2 separate regions of the Homo sapiens genome follow, and region 1 is linked to region 2. The links are contacts of gene promoters, found by promoter capture Hi-C in blood cells and fetal thymus (Javierre and others, 2016). All regions are on one chromosome and are shown on one strand. The core of a region is centred on a gene start or on the middle of the fragment in contact, and the rest is flanking DNA. Distances in the headings are between cores, read along the strand shown.

Region 1 (3,414 bases), core at 848-3,347, 7.0 Mb after region 2:
TAAATTCTCCAGGTATGCCCCCTCTTCCTCCTGAAGCACTTCATCTTTCTTAAAGACAGTTGTTTCCCTCAGGTGCTATCTTCCTCCTATGCAGAAATCCTATTCTTCCACAAATCCATAGCTAGATATTTGACAGCCAAGTAAAGTAATTCACGATAAGCTAACTCATAGGGAAGATCTGTACCTGAATCTTTAATTGGGTTATACGTAGAGGAGATTAAACCATAGCCACATCCCATCTGCCCTCTTCACTCTATGAGACCCAGAGTTTCCACCACAGAACAGAGGACTGACTGGAATCAAAGCTCACCCCTTTCTTGGAGGCTATTCTTTGATGTGCTGGACACCCTTCACAGCCAACCTTTGAAAGGAAGAGAGACGCGAAAGAATTGGGCCAAATGTAGACAATGCTTCAGAAATAGAAGATTGGTAGAACTTGAGGAGATATGGGAAAATCCACATTCCTTTTACCCATGCTCTCAACTTTTTACCCATTTCCACAATTATTTTATTTCTTGGAAGTAAAATAGTATTTGAGGGAACTATAATGCATTAATCTCACATTCATGTGATTGAGTCATTGGAAGCCGTGCCAGGCTTGAGAGCAGAGAAGGAATAAAGAGACAGGAGGAAATCTGCATTCAACCTGGACCTAGTTTTTTCAGCCAAATAAATGGCATATTGGGAGACACTGCAATTCATGAAAAGCTTGTTGCTACAATAGTCCTCCTCTGCCAAGAAACTTCTTTATTTTGTTCCCCATATAATATAGTAGAAAGTGGCCGAGCACAGTGGCTCACACCTGTAATCCCAGCACTCTGGGAGGCCAAGGCGGGTGGATCACTGGAGGTCAGGAGTTCGAGACCAGCCTGGCCAACATGGTGAAACCTGTCTCCACTTAAAAAAAAAAAAAAAAAAATTAGCTGGGCGTGGTGGTGCTCACCTGTAGTCCCAGCCACTCGGGAAGCTGAGGCAGGAGAATCGCTTGAACCATGGAGGTGGAGGTTGCAGTGAACTGAGATCATGCCACTGCACTCCAGCCTGGGCCACAGAGTGAGACTCCATATCAAAAAAATTAAAAAATTAAAACAACAAATATATATATATATGTATATATATATATGTAACCAGCTGCCAATTATAAATTAGCAAATAGGCTGCTGACCCATCTCTAATAGATAAGGAGTATCCACTAATTAAAAGTGAAATACAATTTAGTCTAAACCCAACCTAGATTGAAAAAGAGCCATCATACATTCTTCAGAAGGTACTAATACAATTCTGGCCAAAAGAATGTTTAAAGATGACAAGTACAAGAAGTTACGAAATTTTATGTAGTTATTCCACCTTACCAAAACAAAATGAGGTATCTGCTGTGATGTCTATTAAAACAAATTATCACACTCATGCACAGCATAACAATGTTTCAATCAACAATGGGCCCAATATACAATGGTGGTCCCATAAAGAGCTGAAAAATTCGTATTGCCTGGTGATACTGTCTTTGTCCTAAGGTCTTATTGCAACACATTACTCACGTGTTTGTGGTGATGCTGGTATAAACAAACCTACTGTGTTGCCATTTGTGTAAAAGTGGAGTATGTACAATTATGTACAGTACAGAATACTTCATAATGATAAGTGGCTGTTTCTGGTTTATGTATTTACTATACCTTTTTTTTTTTTTTAACAGGCACTCCTTGCCATTTCCTGTTGCTACCATACTTTATTATTTTAAAGTGTATTCCTGGTCAGGCATGTGGCTCACACCCATAATCTCAGCACTTTGGGAAGCCAAGGCAGGAGGATCACTTGAGGCCAGGAGATTGAAACCAGCCTGGGCAACATAACGAGACCCCTTCTCTACAAAGAAATGAAAAAATTAGTTGAGCTTAGTGGTGTGCACCTGTAGTCCCAGCTACTAGGGAGGCTGAGGCAGGAGGATCACTTGAGCCCAGGAGTCTAAGGCTGCAGCGAGCTATGATCTCACCACTGCAGTCCAGCCTAGGTAACAGAGTGAGACCCCATCTCTAAAGAAAAAAATAAAGAAAATGAAGCTATTGGGTTTATTTATTATTTATTTATTTATTTATTGCCTGTTTGCTTGTATTTTAGGGAAAGAAGGGCCACACAACGGAAAGATATTTAAGGATGTAAATCATTGTATTCTCATTAACTTACTGTGTTCTCTCTCTATTGGGAATAAAGTAATATTTAAGACTAAATTAACTAATATGAGCAAATTTTGATTAACTACATATATCACTTGATTCCAACATGCCATATATTTCCTCTTCCTGACTACATGTATCAATGTATACTAGACTTTGGTATATATGTGTTTATGTACATTACATTATAGTTTAAGGCATATTTTAAATTCAATCTTGAATGGAAACTCAGTTTTATTGGATGAAATAATAACCAAATTTAGGAAGGCAATCCCATCCTAACATTTAAGACAGTTAATGAATTAACTGAGATTAATTCATTAAAACACAAATATTTATTGAGATATTTATGTGTTGGTTTCTAGTCTTGGCATTTAGTATGTCAGTATACAAAACTGTAAAACAATCTCTGTCTACATATTATGCTACACTTTACCATTTTATTGAGTTATACTAAAGTTTACTATTTTATAATCTATTAATCATTAGCACTTAACACTGATAATTCACCTTAAAAATGCTACACTCAAGCCAGGCACAGTGGCTCACACCAGTAATCCAGCAGTTTGGGAGGCCAAGATGTGCGGATCACCCGAGGTCAGGAGTTTGAGACCAGCCTGGCCAACGTGGCAAAACCCCGTCTCTACTAAAAAAATTAAAAAATTAGCCGAGTGTGGTGGCACATGCCTGTAATCCCAGCTACTTGGGAGGCTGAGACAGAAGAATCGCTTGAACTTGGGAGGCAGAGGTTGCAGTGAGCCGAGATCATGCTACGGTACTGCAGCCTGGGCAACTGAGCCAGACTCTGTCTCAAAAAAAAAAAAAAAAACCTACACGTAAATTCTAAACACATGCTGTTGAATCTATCTCATACAAGAAATCAGGGGCGGGCACGGTGGCTCATGCCTGTAATCTCAGCACTTTGGGAGGCCAAGGCAGGCGGATCACGAGGTCAGGAGATCAAGACCATCCTGGCTAACATGGTGAAACCACCGTCTCTACTAAAAATACAAAAAAAAAAAATTAGCCGGGCGCGGTGGTGGGCGCCTGTAATCCCAGCTACTCGGGAGGCTGAGGCAGGAGAATGGCATGAACCTGGGAGGCGGAGCTTTCAGTGAGCGGAGATCATGCCACTGCACTCCAGCCTGGGCGACAGAGCGAGACTCCATCTCAAAAAAAAAGAAAAAAGAAAAAAAAGAAATCAATTGGTTTAGTTTTATTTATTAACATAATTCATCAGTTA
Region 2 (3,104 bases), core at 246-2,745:
CCGATAATTCAGTGGGCCCCCAGTGAAGAGCTAAGCTATCTCCTAACAACGTTAATGCCAACTAGAAATATTCCCAAACACAAATCATTGATTGTTTTACTCTGGTACTAATTGAAATAGAGCAGAAACCAATTTCTTTAATTTATTTTATGACATGTTTTGATGGACTTTACCTACACAGAAGAGCTATGTGTTCTGGTTGAGGAACGACACTGCAAGAAGCAGCATATGGTAGAATTAAGGACGCAGGCTTTGACATTAGACCTTACTTTAAATAATAGCTCTACCAGTGACCAGGACTGTAGGTAATTTAATTCTCTGAGGTTCAGCCTCTTCAAGTATAAGGTGGGGAAGGGCTCGAGGATCATGGTGGATGATCCTAATTAAGGTTTGAGGCTTGCACCTGCATAGGGAAGAATGAGTCCCTAAAGCCATTCCCTGCTGGTTAAGACAAGTCTCATTAATTGTTCAGGAAAGTCTTCAATTAAATTGAAGGTCTGGCATACTGCAATTCCTGCAAGTTCTTAGTTATTATCAGCTCTGGCTGGTTAGAAGCAGCTATGATAAACACGGGCTTCAATTTAGCTATCTGGAAGGTAGGTGCTGCTGCAAGTGGAAAGTTTGTCTTTAAGAATATGCGCTGCAATTTGCTTTATTCACTGATGATTATATTGATCGGAGTTGTCTATGTTGATACTTGTAGGGGATGAAGGAGAGGGAGAAGTCAACGATGACAGCAAATTTTAGTGTAGAGCAACTGAGCGAATGGTGGTGCAGGAAACACAGAAGAGGAGCGGCTCGGAAGTGGGAATGGAGATAACATCATACTGTGGACATTCGGAATCCACAGAGCTGCGTGGAAATCAGATTTAACTTGCTCTCTCTCCCCATTTAAGATGCTTCTCAAGTAGCCTCACTCCCTAAAACAAACGGATATTTGGCATTGCGCCACATTATTCTGCAGCTGCCATATTTTCTTGCAGGTGGAAGGCAGGCCCTTCCTGGTGTAAACAAACAAGATCGGGCCAGAGTGACAATCCTCCCTGATGGCCCGCACCTGGTTTATACCCTCTATTAATGGGGTCCTTCAAAATCATCAGATGCCCTCCTCCCGCAGCGGTGGCCTCCACCTCTGGCCTGGCCCAGCTTACGTGGTCCAGCTTGTGCAAGATCCAATTCCAACTCCGGGTTTCCGGCTTTTGGCCACTCAGGATTGGACCTGGGACTGGAGCTGGTCGGCCCTGCAGGTGCTGGGCCTGGGGACTGAGGAAGCACAGAGATTCCCCGCCCGGTTCCCCGCCAACGGCGCTAGCCGCGATGCCCCGCCTCACTCCCCGCCCCCGGGATGCAGGGCGCGTGCTGGTAATCCGCGGCTCAAGCCCCGCCCCCACTGTCCCCATTCTCCGCTCACCTCTCTCCAAGGACACTGCGCACGCGCCACGACGTCCCGCCTTTCTCCCCGCCCTGCCGCGGCCCCGGGGCGCAGCGCGCACGCAATCGCGTTTCCGGAGAGACCTGGCTGCTGTGTCCCGCGGCTTGCGCTCCGTAGTGGACTCCGCGGGCCTTCGGCAGGTCGGTGCAGGTCTTTGGAGAGTATTGTTTTTATTTTCTGCCACTTTTAACTTTTAGGGATTATTTAGGAGTTTCACGGCCGTCTGCTTTTCGTCCCCCCGATTCAGCGGGCCTTTATGCCGTGTGGTCGGTGCTTTTCTCCTTGGGTATTTTCTGCTTGTCTTAAAAGAGGCTGTGGATGCTCGGAGCACCTGAGCTCCTGAGGCAAAGGCTTACCCTTGTAGCATAGTGTTGCCTCGTTTCCTGGTGGTTTTGTTGCTCCAGCTCTTTAAAAGCCTCCCTTACTCAGTGCCGCCTCGAGTTAAGAACTGTGGGCAAGATCCCAAGCCCGCTGCCCTTCCCCGTTTTATGGGAAATTAATTCTTTCTTTTTTTGGGGGGTGGGGAGGGGTTCTCGCTGTGTCGCCCAGCCTGGAGTGCAGTAGCCTGAATATGTCTTATTGCAGCCTCTGCCTCCTGGGCTCAAGCCATCCTCCCACCTCAGCCTCCCAAGTAGCTGGGATTACAGGTGCATGCCATCATGCCCGATTTGTGTGTGTGTGTGTGTGTTTTAATAGAATATGGGTTTCACCATGTTGACCAAGCTGTTCTCGAACTCCTAACCTCAGGTAATCCGCCTGCCTGGGCCTCCCAAAGTACTGGGATTACAGGCGTGAGCCACTTTGCCTGGCCTAATTCTTTAAACAGAATAAACGGCGTATGCATTGCTTTCCATCTTGTTAGGTTCACTGCATACAGAATACTTTTCTGTAAGAAAATAGGAGCTGTTTTTCCAAGGGTGCAATGTCACATGTGATTCTGACTTGAGTTTCCGTGTATTTTACCCTCCCCTTCTGCCCTCCTAACGAGAACTGTGAGTTGGATGCAGAAGTTTCTAAAAAAAAAAATTGAGTATTGAAATTGGCTGTTGCATCAGTGAAGAAAAGCAACATCCCTACCACCCCTCAAAAGAGACATTAAAGTAGTTGGATTAAGGGCACGGGAGTATTTGCTTTCCGATTTAGTGATAATGTGAGTGCTTAATGAAATGACTAACACATTCCCTGATTATAGAGCTGGTCAGTGGATCTTGCTGAGTTTCCTGTGGACCTATGTGAAATGATCGGCATCTGTTCAGGGTTTACTAGGTGCTAAGCACCTTTACATGTGACATCCATTGAATGCTCACAACACCCCCAGGAAATTGGTACCAGTGTTATCCTCATGGTACAGTGAAGGATACTGAGACTTAGGTTGCATAGCCTGCAGGTTGGACACACTTCTTTCTGACTGCTGGGGAGCTGTGCTTTTAACCACTGCTGATCCGGCTTGTTTTCCCCAGATGCAGGCCTGGGGTAGTCTCCTTTCTGGACTGAGAAGAGAAGAATGGAGAAGCCCCTCTTCCCATTGTGAGTAGACAGTAAATGGTTAGAGAGTAGCCAGGAGCTTCTGGAAACCAGAGTTCCTTTCCTCAGCTGAAAAGAACCCTAAGAGTAGACTGCCTGGGATGGCGTGCGGGATGGGAGGATCACTGGACCTGTGGGCCAGAAACTT

The links. Contacts are between HindIII fragments. The CHiCAGO score rates a contact against its expected background, and 5 or more counts as called.
Region 1: a fragment that was not itself captured here is called in contact with the fragment with the promoter of TMEM14B in region 2 in 1 of 17 cell types (non-activated CD4 T cells); the score reaches 5.1 in non-activated CD4 T cells.

The regions. Positions count from the first base shown.
Region 1 is chr6:17,709,096-17,712,509 of GRCh38, forward strand. NUP153-AS1 (NUP153 antisense RNA 1) reads left to right here. Exons shown (of 3, transcript NR_134618.1): 3 at 1,694-1,932. Among named protein-coding and RNA genes, the nearest start is that of NUP153-AS1, 3.8 kb to the left of the region's middle. The HindIII fragment of the contact is 2,783 bases long and covers 707-3,414 here.
Region 2 is chr6:10,746,310-10,749,413 of GRCh38, forward strand. TMEM14B (transmembrane protein 14B) reads left to right here and starts at 1,496. Exons shown (of 6, transcript NM_030969.5): 1 at 1,496-1,572; 2 at 2,893-2,959. The coding sequence starts at 2,937. It overlaps TMEM14B-DT (TMEM14B divergent transcript), which reads right to left and starts at 1,275. Exons shown (of 2, transcript NR_187231.1): 1 at 1,152-1,275. RefSeq lists an enhancer at 1,056-1,105 and silencers at 1,226-1,455, 1,290-1,510, 1,466-1,525. The HindIII fragment of the contact is 12,296 bases long and covers 1-3,104 here.